Regions from separate parts of the Homo sapiens genome. Here regions 1, 3 and 4 are each linked to region 2. The links are contacts of gene promoters, found by promoter capture Hi-C in human tissues and cell types (Jung and others, 2019). All regions are on one chromosome and are shown on one strand. Each heading gives the region's core, a stretch centred on a gene start or on the middle of the fragment in contact. The rest is flanking DNA. Distances are from core to core; before and after follow the strand shown.

Region 1 (2,957 bases), core at 43-2,542, 140 kb after region 2:
TTTTCCATTTTCTTGCTAGCAGTAGATATGATCAATCACTTAAAAATGTTTGTCACTGCAATTTTTTATTTATTGCATCTCTACCGTTCCTTTGTGCTCTCTTCAAAGGTCAAAGTTCTGTTTTTACATGGAAATATGGTGTAGAAGTGTTGAACAACCTCTAAAATACCCTATGTGAGAAATACTTAGATTATAAAACATTTATTTAAGTATTAAAATCATTTAGGGATAGTTTTTTTTATAACTTAGAAATGTGTACATTTTCAAATAGAGAACCAGGTTGAATTCTTATGGATATTTAAATGATCTTAAGTAGGTGTCATTTTCTTTACCATATTTGCTAGTTTTCATCATTTGAGGATAGGGTTAGATTATAATTGAAATACTAAGCCTGAAATTATTTTGGAAAACCCAAAGGCTTAAAACCTTTTGGGGACAAACAGTATTTCTTAAAGATAATTGTCTGTTTCTGGTTGCTGTTACAGGTGATTCTTCACTCTGAAAAGGTGCATAAGTAATTTAACTAAAAGTCTATTCACATGAAAGGCCCAGATTTAATTTGCATTTCCTTAAGGGGCACAGATAGCAGTCCCTCTTTACCTCCATTCTCTTCTACCAGGCTACAGGGGACCACAGTTTTCTAAAGGGTTCCTTATTTGTTTATTATAGCTGACTTATTAGATGTTTAAACAGATTTATTGTCATCTAACTCTTTTTATAAATGTATAGATTCAGTAGAATTTAGAACATGCCGTTACCTTAGACAAAGCAGCTCCTTATATTTTAAGATTTTTTTTTTTTTACATTCTGTTTTGTTCACACTTCATGAACAAATCTGCCTTGCTATTCATAAATGACCTAGACATAAATCTGAATTTTTAGTTTGGTCTTTAAAATTTTCCAAAGACTTAAAGGTTGACTCTTTGTCAGCTATCTTTATGGACTTACTATGAAATATGTTAAGTTGCATATTATTGGCTTATCATTTTTTCACAAGTCCCACATAGAGAGGCTGAAAACATATATTAACAAGAACAAAGAAGAAAGGAGAAAAATGGTAGTAAGGGTATTCAGTAGAATTTGAGAGTTGATTCAAACTAGTGACTAGAGGCATTCTTTCTGAGAAAAATAACTAGCCTAAGAGAGGAAAGAGGAAGCTTGAAATACTAATAGTCAGGTGCATTACTTTTAAATAACAACAGATTGGCAAGGATCGCCAGATATTTGAGGAAAAACCTTTATGTGAAAGATAAAAGGGAGAATATGGAAGAAAAACAAGGCATGAAGCAGAAGGAAACTAAAAAAAAGGGAAAAGAAAGGAAATGGAATATTTTGCAACCGTTACACTAGACTAGAAGGGTATTTGAAAGAAAAGCAGTTGGGGAAAATGAAATACCCCTTTGGAAATGTAAGGTATACTGAAAGAAATAAGCAATGATAAAAGAGTTAGAAGTTAAGACTCAGGACTGCTCCAAGAAAGTTACCTGTTTTTAAGACAAAGATGGTGTGCTGGACTTGTATTGTGTCAAACCAGCTAAGCTGGAACTGTTTCCCAGATTTCTTTTTTCTTTTGCATCCTTAGCAAGGGCCATGAAGCATTTTGACTTTGAAAGGTAAGTGTGAAACTGCAGCCATATTCTTTTGCTTAGAAGATCAGGGTGAGGACAACAGATGCTGTTGCAGCTCAAAGGCGTTGCTGGCATGGGCTGGCACAGGCATTGCCCAGCAGCTGGGCTCCTTAGCTCCTCTTCTCTTTTGGCTCCTCTGAACCGTGGGCCAGACCTAGCACCAGATGCAGAGTTACAGCTGAACATGAACTGTTTAACTAGGTTAACAATTACACATGGCCAAATCTCTGGTAATGCCATATTTTGTATCATTTATAGTCTTCTCTGGTCAAATGCTAACTAATACAGGGCTTTATACCATTGGTAGCTGCAGAGGAGTAGCACCTTAAAAGATGGGTTCCTGAATTAGTTCTGGGTTTTCCAGAATTGGTTCTCTGGTCTAATCAGATCTAACAGCAATGATGATCCTGTCTCTAGTGGTAAAAGGGACACTGGTGGTCCGTGGCATACAGTGGCAAAACTTGTAGACAGTAGAAATTAAGTGCCCTTAGAAGGCAAGTTTTTGGGAGAACAAGTATTTATTACCACAGAACATTTTAGTGACAATAATAATGAGATAGATTGGTTCCTTCAAAGTACACTGGAGAACTTAAGAAAAGGGCTGTAAATTCTGAACTCAGAGTCCACATAAGGGAGTGAAATCATCTGTGATTGCCCTAAAAGAAATCCTTATGTCTTGTAGCCAAAGGCAGAGATTTCTGGACACCACACCCAAAGTCTGTTTCCTGCAGGTGGCTGAATTACAGCGCAGATTGAACTTCCAATCTTGTAAGATCTCTTGGGTTAAAGTGTACAACATTTATTGGGAAAGAGTGGAAAATTAAAAATTGCATGAGAGATATTAGCAGATTCCAATGAAACTGGGTATCTTGAACTCCTCAGTTCTATTTCTATTGAACCACCCTTGCCAGTCCTTCTACCCCTGTCTGTCTGAAGGAGGTTAATCTCCTGTAGCACCTGTATTGACTTCCCTTAAGGAAGTTGCCTTACATGGGACTACTGATCTTCCTCAGGACCTATCCTCACCACCTCTCATTGCTTCTATACCTATAATCAGCCTCAGGTTCCAGCAGCCCCCAGAGAATGAGGTACGAAGCACCTGATTTTGCCTGCAGTTACCTGAGGGGATGGTGTGGGAATGGATCCTAAGGGTGTAGGTTCAGGGTAGAAGGAATATAAAGTTGGATCAGGCTGAAGTTATTGATATGGACTCACCAATAGAGATACTAGACAGAAGACATTAGATCAGAGAGAAGGCTAGGAGTGGCTTTAACAGTTAATTCAGTTGGTTGACTTAAAGCTAGATCAGAAGGTGGCCTGAAAGTGAAA
Region 2 (3,026 bases), core at 355-2,854:
AGGAGCTGTAACCATCAGGTTGCCTGCTATTTTAGTCCACTCGGGCTTCTATAATGAAATATCATAAACTGGGTAGCTTATAAAAAGAGAAATTCATGTCCCATAATTCCAGAGGTTGGGAAGTTCAAGATCAAGGCAGATGTGGTATCTGATGAGAGTCTACTTTCTAGACAGCAGTCTTTTTACCATAACCTCACTTGCTGGAAGGGGTGAGGGATCTTTCTGAGGTTTCTTTTTTTAAAAAAATTATTTATTTAATGTATTTAACTAACAAATAATAATTGTATGTATTTATGAGGTATCATGTTACATTTGTATGTGTCGTGAAATAATTAAATCAAGTTAACATATTCATCACTTTAACATGATTTGTCCTGAATGGAATCCCATTCATGAGGGCTCCACCCTTATGATCTAATCACCTTTCAAAGGCCCAACCTTCTAATATTATCAACTCCAGCTTTAGCATTTTAACACTCAGTTGGGGGTATAATCCTAGCACTTTGGGAGGCCCAGGCGGGAGCTCAGGAATTGGAGACCAGCCTGGACAATATAACGAGATCCCGTTTTTGCTAGGCATAGTGCCGCTCCCCTGTGGTTCCAGCTACTCGGGAATCTGAGGTAGGAGGGTAGGATGATCACTTGAGCCCAGGAGGTGGAGGCTGCAATGAGCCAATGGTGCCACTGCACTCCAGCCTGGGTGACAGAGTTAGATCCTGTTTCCAAAACAAAACAAAACAAAACAAAACAAAACAAAACACCACAACATTCAGATCATAGCATCTGCCTACTTGTAAAATCGCCTTTCAGTGCAGTGTTGGTTCCTACAAACATACAATATAATGACTTTAGCTTGAAATTAAGGCATCTTCTCTGACTGCATTACAAACAGGCAAGTTTTTTCATATCGATTCACTCAACACCTTTTATTTATCCAGATAATATCTAGGATCACGCTTAATATCTAAGTGCTAGAATCTAATTATATAGATATCAAAAGGCATTAAGTTTTTCAGAAGACAGACATACAATTTTAATGTTTAGAGGTGATAGAGACACCTATAGCAGCACCAAAGAAGAAACGATTTTCCATTTAAGATTTTAGGCAGTTTAACTCTAAAATATGAAAATAGGCACATCTCACAGACTATAAAACTATACGCCATTTTAATTTTTACAATGTCAATTCTAACTGCGAATTTTAGCAACGCTTCAGTGTGAAGACAGCAGAGAAAAACACTGAAAATGCGTGATTGAATTCTTATTGAGTCACTCTTCTCGGAAATCAGTCCTCCCCATTTTCTCCTTAAAAAATAGAATCCTGGAGATAGTCTAGTGCTGGCTTTTCGAGGAACACACTACAGGGGACACAAGGAGAGGAACACGGATGCCGCAGTTTTCCAAGTGCAGCTTGCCCCTCCCACGTGATAGGTTTCTGGCATCGCCCCTCCTTGCTGGCGATTCTGGGGAAGATTTTAACGCTCCCTGGAGCCGTCCCCAGTGACGTCACGGGCGCGGCTCCGCTCCTTGGCCAATCACGCGGCCGGATCCCGGGGAAACCCGGGGCGGTGGCGGCGGCCTGGGCGCGTGCGCGAGGTCTCCGCGTGGCTATATAAACATGGCTGGCGTGGCCGCGCGGCGGGGCCGTGCCAATCGCGCGTAGGGGGCTGTGGGCACTCGGGGTTCGTAGTTTTGAAATTTCTGGCGGGGGAGCAGCTGCGCAGTTAGGCTCGAGGTGTGAGCGACGACCTTCCGGGAGCCGCAAGTCCAGGCTCCCCCGCAGCGGGACCCGAGCCTGAGGCGCAGGGCTGAGGCAGCGCACGTGTGAGCGCCGCTGAGGAAGCTGCGAGAGGTCGGGCGGGTGTCGCTCCGGGGGCAGCCCAGGCTCGCGCGGACGAGAGGAAGGTCCGGGACGCGCGTGTCCTGCCGTGCAGCGGGCGCCCGTCACTGACTTCGCTGCTGCGGCCCCCGCGCCTCTCCCCAGCGATGCTGTGGAACCCGAACCGCACCGGAGTCGGCTGCCGCGCGCCAAGCCTCCCCTCACCTCTGCTCCCGGAACCGCAGCGCCAAAGCTGCCGCTGAGCCCCTGGGGGATGCCCGCCGGCCTCACCGAACCCGCCGGCGCCGCTCCCCCGGCTGCTGTGAGCGCCTCGGGGACCGTGACCATGGCCCCGGCCGGGGCGCTGCCGGTGCGGGTGGAGAGCACTCCGGTGGCCCTGGGCGCCGTGACTAAGGCTCCTGTCAGCGTCTGCGTGGAGCCCACGGCGTCCCAGCCCCTGCGGTCCCCCGTGGGGACCCTGGTGACCAAAGTGGCTCCGGTCAGCGCCCCTCCTAAAGTCAGCAGCGGCCCTAGGCTGCCTGCTCCTCAGATAGTCGCCGTGAAAGCCCCCAACACCACGACAATCCAGTTTCCTGCTAATTTGCAGCTTCCTCCAGGTATGTTGATAACCCTTTCCAGCCTTGTCTGTCGGTCCAGCTGGCGGCGACGGGAAAATTCGCAGCTCCAGATTGCTCCTAAAAAAACTGAGCCACGGGAACATTTCATAATCTTGACTTTACAGTTAACATATTCTTTTTGTGTCATTACTACATAGTTTTTCTTTTCATATTTAAGGAAAGAATCTTTTCACCTAAGTGATACAGTAAAAAGCTACATCAGCGTATTCGGGGGGGCTTTCAGGCACTGGCTCTTAGGTGGAGGAGATAATATAGCCGAAGTTAATTTCCATGTGGAGGATGGACCGGTTTATACCGTGGATTTCCATACGCTTAGATTATGTAGAAGTGCGTTGTACTTATTTTATTAATTATGAATGAATGAATGAACGAATGAGGTATGGTTTCGCTCTGTCGCCCAGTCTGGAGTGCAGTGACACGATCATGGCTCACCGACGTCGAACTCCTGGGCCCAATCGATCCTCCCGCCTCGGCCTCCCAAAGTGCTGGGATTACAGGCGTGAGCCACCGCGTACGGCCTAACAGTGAAGTTCTTGTGTATTACAACTGAAAGAGATTTTTAAATTTAA
Region 3 (3,012 bases), core at 119-2,618, 240 kb after region 2:
GCTTAGGGGGCAGTGGGATCCTGCTCTTGGGACCCTCGGCAGTGGGTGGTTCCCTAGCAGGCAGGGCACCTATGTATCAGGGGTACCACCAGCAAAGCAGGGGTGCCAAGAAAATGAAAGGATTTTACCTTTTCCATTTCCAAAACAGCAACCAAGTAGTGGTCATCATAACAAAAGACAGATCTCTGTAGCACTTACTTTCCTTTGGTTTTAAAGATTTTGTTTATCTTGTCGGGGATGGAGGTTGGGGGAGTGGCCACTGCAGTTTTTTCAGTGTTTAGGGTACTAAAGCTCTTAATTGCCCTGGCCTTGTAATACTCCTTTGGGCTGGAATAATTTCTTTTTTAATGGAGTTTCTCTCTCCTTGTCCAGGCTGGAGTGCAATGGCATGATCTTAGCTCACTGCAACCTCTGCCTCCCAGGTTCAAGAGATTCTCCTGCCTCAGCCTCCAGAGTAGCTGGGACTACAGGTGCCCGCCACCATGCCCGGCTAATTTTTGTATTTTTAGTGGAGATGGGGTTTCGCCATGTTGGCCAGGCTGGTCTTGAACTCCCGACCTCAGGTGATCTGCTCACCTCAGCCTCCCATAGTGCTGGGATTACAGGTGTCAGCCACCGTGCCCGGCCCATTCTTTCTTTTCTTCAAAGCCTGGAGGGACTGGCCCACGTGCCCCTTTTCTCCTGCCACTACTTGACAGTTCTCACCAGGCAGTCCCCTCCTCATCCAGGGGCACTGACTCCCAGCTTCTCCCGACTACTCTTGTTTTCCTGGGTCAAGGATACCCAGACTAGGATTAGTCTTGATGGCTACTGAAAGAAATGGAAGCAGCAGCAGTGTCCCGTCTACGCCCTGCCACTGTCTCCACTCCCATCTTACAGACAGAAGCACACACAGGTGACCGTGTCAGGGTGCTGACGGCGGGACGGAAGGCAGGCCCACCAGCATTCTGAAACAACACCCTGGCTTGGAAAGTCACGAGGACGCCACACCACAGGAGCTAGGCCTGATGTCTAGGGCGTGCTGAGGGAGGGGGCCAGAGACACCATCGGAGATGGTGCCGGGGTGGGGCTGGCTGCTCTTCCATCCTCCCAGTCCTGCCTCTGGGAAAATATCCTTGGGAGGAGAAAAGAGGTCATGGGCAGTACCAGACAGCGCTAGTCACCAGACCACGGATACAGCCTCGGTGGCGGCAGCTGAGGCCGTGGTCTGGGGCATGTCCTGAGTAGGCACTCCCGCAGGTACCAGTGAAGAAACTCTGGCGAGTGGGGGCCTATCCAGGTCGCCACTCTGCCTTCTCCGAGAAAGACCTACCCGCAGGTACGGGTGAAGAAACTCTGGCGAGTGGGGGCCTATCCAGGTCGCCACTCTGCTTTCTCTGAGAAAGTTCTACCCGCAGGAATGAGGACCTAGAAGCAATGTGTGTGTTGCCACAGCTGATTGGCTAAAGTACAGGCATGGAGCCAAGCTGAGCCAATCAGATGGTGTCTCTGTAGGACCAAGGGAGGGGAACGAGGCCCTGGGCTTGCTGAGACTGGCACATGTTAATGGCACCTCCTGCAATTTAAGTCTTCAGGGCGGTCCTGTTGTTTCCATCCCTGAGAGAAAGCTTCCACTAATTCTATGAGATAAACTAGTAAGCGCTTCCTGTCAATACTCCCTTTAACTTTTCCTTAAGCTGGACAACTGGTTCTCGAGCAGGAGTAATTTTGACACTAGAGGGCATTTAGCAATGTCTGGAGACACTCTTGGTTGTTGCAACCGGGAAGGGGGTGCTACTGGAATTTGATGGGTAGGGAGGGATGCTGCTGAAAACCCTATATTGCACAGGACAGCCCCCACCACAAAGAATTGTTTGGCCCCAAATGTTACTTTGAGCTTGACAGAGATCGTTTTTATTGCAGCCTAAGGAGCATGCAACTCACCTTGATACAATGATCAGTTCATTCCTAGCATCATTAATGGTGGCTCAACCACATGCCTTTGCTACTGTGAGGTAGTATGAAGCAAACAGCATCACTGTGATGTATTCTCCCCAACAAGTCTAACGTAAACCCATCATGTCTTTAGAGATGACTTCCAGTTTACAGGAAATTAAGGGATAGATTCATGAGCTAAACTACACATGACAAGGCAACCACACAAATCGAGATGGCAGGACATTTTGCAGGACAGCTAGCCCAGTCTCCAGCAAGTTGTAAAGGGCATTGTGGAGTCAAGCAGGGAAACTCAAATATAGTTGTGGAATTAGAGGAAATAATTTTTTTTAAATGGAAAGGTAAAGGTTATTGTCCAAAATAAGCACAGGAAAAGATCCAGAAGGCTACTCACTAATGTTTTAACATTGGCAGTCTGAGTGGTGGGAACATACGGTATAGTTTGTTTTTTTTTTTTTGGTTTGTCTATATTTTTAAATTCTCTACAATGTACATGTACTTCTTCTATAATATTAAAATGTTATTAAAAATAAACAATAGAGGTTGGTTGTGGTGGTGGCTCACACCTGTAATCCCAGCACTTTGAGAGGCCAAGGCAGGAGGATTGCTTGAGCCTAGGAGTTTGAGATCAACCTGTGGCGGCTCAGTGAGACCGTCTCTACAAAAAATGAAAAACTAGCTGAGTGTGGTGGTGCATGCCTGCAGCCCCAGCTACTTCGGGGGCGCTGAGCGGGGAGGACTGCTTGAACCTGGGAGGTTGAGACTGCAGTGAGCTATGATTGCACCACTGCATTCCAGCCTGGGTGACAGCGCAAGACCCTGTCTCAAAAAAAATTTTTTAAGGCCGGGCACAATGGCTCATGCCTGTTATCCCAGCACTTTGGGAGGCCGAGGTGGGTGGATCACCTGAGGTCAGAAGTTCAAGATCAGCCTACCAATATGGTGAAAACCCATCTCTACTAAAAATACAAAAGTTAGCTGGGCATGGTGGGGGGTGCCTGTAATCCCAGCTACTTGGGAGGCTGAGACAGGAGAATCACTTGAACCCAGGAGGCGAAGGTTGCAGTGAGCCGAGAT
Region 4 (2,779 bases), core at 93-2,592, 230 kb before region 2:
CATTTTGTTTTAATCATCACTGCTGTTGATCACAAATCAGTAAGCAAATCCTTAAATCTGTGAACATATCAATAGAATCTGAATAAATCGAGCTAGTTTAATGGCTAATATGAATACACTGGATTTTCTTTTAATGATTCAATTTGTTATCTGCCAATTGACCCCAAAGTTCTGGTCCAGGTATAGACAACATGTAGACAAGGAGAGCTCAAAGTTGGAACTCACCCCTTGGTTCATGCACACATGGTATTACGTAGAGCCACTGCCTCCACTTTCGCAACAGGTTTTTCAGAAACCACTACCCTGAGAAATAGTAGTAGTAACTATTTATTAGTGAAGTTTCATCATACATTGTGCATCTTTCCTTTCCCTTTTCTTCAGCAATATTGCAGAGGAAGAGTAAGCTTAACATAATATACATGATCATAACCCAGCAGAATGAACTGTAACCAAGGAGAACGGCTTCATCTAGTACAAGAGATGCAAGGGCTCTTTACTTGGACTCAGATGTCCTCAAATGACCACCTTCTCTATCTCTTTAGGTTGCCCTACCTGGAAAATAGGGCTAATTCAACTAACCTAGATAACTCAGACATGATGGGAAAATTAGCTATTTAGGGTTCATTGAGTGCATTCAATATGAAAAGCACGACGTATGTCACAAACACAGGGCTGTGACTTCAGGGGAGACAAGAAACAGCAGGCACAAATGAACTTTTAAAAAACAAAGGCCCTATTCTCATGTAAATACTCCACAATAAAGGCTATGGAAAGAAAGCAGCAGGAAATATAAAATATAAACAGAATATTTTCCATGAGGAGTCAGCAGATTTTATCAAGTTAATAAATTATTACAATACAGCATATAAAATCAAACTCATGCAGAATCAGACCAGAGAATATAATGTGTGGCTGCTGGGATTATCTGGTGGGAAGGATCTCATTGATTTTTATAGAGCACTGGATCTGGGAGATTTTAAAATTAGGCAAGGATGATGACCCAGTTTGGGTGGGAAAAGCTTAGAGAATCCATTCAAGGAAGAATATAGCCCAAGAAGTCTCTGGAGGTAGAGTTATTTTTAACCTTTCAGACCTACATGACATAAGGAGAATTCTGAAAACTGAATGCAAAGAGGAAACATTTTATGAACTTCAGTATCCATTTCTCATCGTCATCACCCTGGCACAGAATTTTAAAAGAGTGGCAAAGTTTATTTACACTTAAATAGAGATTTGAGGAAAATAAAATCAAACTTGCTTTCTTGTTTTTACCAGCATATGTGAGAACAAAGTTGGATGAATTTTCTTTTGGGCTCTGATGAGACCAAGAAATCCTTATACAAAATAAAAACCATAGCATTAAATACAAAACATATTAGAAGTGGGTATGTCAAATTTAAAAATCAGTGGTGGCCAGGTACAGTGGCTCATGCCTGTAATCCCAATGCTTTGGGAGGCTGAGGAGGGCAGATCACTTAAGGTCAGGAGTTCAAGGCTAGCCTGGCCAACATTGCGAAACCCTGTCGCAACTTAAAATACAAAAATTAGCCCGGCCACCACACATGCCTGTAATCCCAGCTACTCAAGGGGCTGAGGCAGGAGAATTGCTTGAACCTGGGAGGCGGAGGTCGCAGTGAGCCGAGATTGCACCACTGCACTCCAGCCTGGGTGACACAGTGAGACTGTCTCAAAAAAATAAAATAAGAAAAATCAGTGGAAAATTTGTAGGAACACTGAGAACTACAAAAAAAATTGTGTATTAGTTAGCTATTGCCAAAAACAATGCTGCATAACAAGCAAAACACTGGTTTTGTGCCACCAAAACCAGTGGCACACAAGAAGCACTTGTTTTCATGGTTCTATGAATCAGACAGGTGATTTTGCTTCACAAAGACTGTGTCTGCTCTATGTGTCTTTCATCCTCCTTGGACTAGTGGGCTAGCCAGGCATGCTCACATCATGGGTCTAGGCTCAAAACTAGAATTTTCACCCAATTCTGTTAGCCAAAGAAAGGACTATGGACAAGCCCAAAGTCATGAGCATGGAAGTATACTCCATCCATGTCGTGAGGATCCAACAAGGGTAAAGAACTGAGAATTCAATCAACCACATTTTGTTTCAAAGTTACATATCAGTACAGCTCTGAAAAAATGGTCCAGTCAGAGATCGAAATGGACCTGAATACAGAGACACACACTTTTAACAAACTATTCGTTGTAATGATGATGTTTCCAATTTCCTTTTCATCTAAGTGTGTATTTTCCCTTGTGCATATAATAATTCTAATGGCTGACACTAACTTATTTTGTTATAACTGCTTAAAAAATCTACAGCAGCCAGGCACAGTGGCTCATGCCTGTAATTCCAGCACTTTGGGTGGCCAAGGTGGACAGATCAACTTGAGGTAGGGAGTTCGAGACCAGTCTGGTCAACACGATGAAACCCCATCTCTACTAAAACTACAAAATGTTAGCCGGGCATGGTGGCATGCATCTGTAGTTCCAGCTACTAGAGAGGCTGAGGCAGGAGAATCGTTTGAACCCAGGAGGCAAAGGTTGCAGTGAGCCAAGATCACACCACTGCACTTCTGCCTGGGTAACAGAGCAAGGTTCCATCAAAAAAACCAAACCAAACCAAAACAAAAAAACAACTAAGGCATTTTTCTTTTTAAACTTAAAGAACTTTATAATGGTTCTATAATAGGGAGAGATTAGATCCCGTGAGATGCATTCCCCATACACTGAAAGGTTTTGAAAGTGTTATTTCTGCAAATTACAAG

What was found. The method cuts DNA at HindIII sites, captures the fragments that hold promoters and counts their contacts. A contact is called where the count stands out against the background at its distance.
Region 1: a fragment that was not itself captured here is called in contact with the fragment with the promoter of TAF4B in region 2 in 1 of the 25 tissues and cell types used here (spleen).
Region 3: a contact is called between a fragment that was not itself captured here and the fragment with the promoter of TAF4B in region 2, in 1 of the 25 tissues and cell types used here (dorsolateral prefrontal cortex).
Region 4: a fragment that was not itself captured here is called in contact with the fragment with the promoter of TAF4B in region 2 in 3 of the 25 tissues and cell types used here (lymphoblastoid cells, spleen and thymus).

Annotation. Positions count from the first base shown.
Region 1 is chr18:26,367,923-26,370,879 of GRCh38, forward strand. All of the region lies in intron 14 of TAF4B (TATA-box binding protein associated factor 4b), which reads left to right. Among named protein-coding and RNA genes, the nearest start is that of LINC01543, 54 kb to the right of the region's middle. The HindIII fragment of the contact is 3,920 bases long and covers 1-2,957 here.
Region 2 is chr18:26,224,841-26,227,866 of GRCh38, forward strand. TAF4B (TATA-box binding protein associated factor 4b) reads left to right here and starts at 1,605. Exons shown (of 15, transcript NM_005640.3): 1 at 1,605-2,436. The coding sequence starts at 2,094. RefSeq lists enhancers at 1,235-1,304, 1,335-1,434 and a silencer at 2,085-2,244. The HindIII fragment of the contact is 12,633 bases long and covers 1-3,026 here.
Region 3 is chr18:26,464,757-26,467,768 of GRCh38, forward strand. The region is part of intron 3 of KCTD1 (potassium channel tetramerization domain containing 1); the gene reads right to left. Among named protein-coding and RNA genes, the nearest start is that of LINC01543, 43 kb to the left of the region's middle. The HindIII fragment of the contact is 4,660 bases long and covers 1-3,012 here.
Region 4 is chr18:25,992,077-25,994,855 of GRCh38, forward strand. No RefSeq gene overlaps it. Among named protein-coding and RNA genes, the nearest start is that of SS18, 97 kb to the right of the region's middle. The HindIII fragment of the contact is 6,784 bases long and covers 1-2,779 here.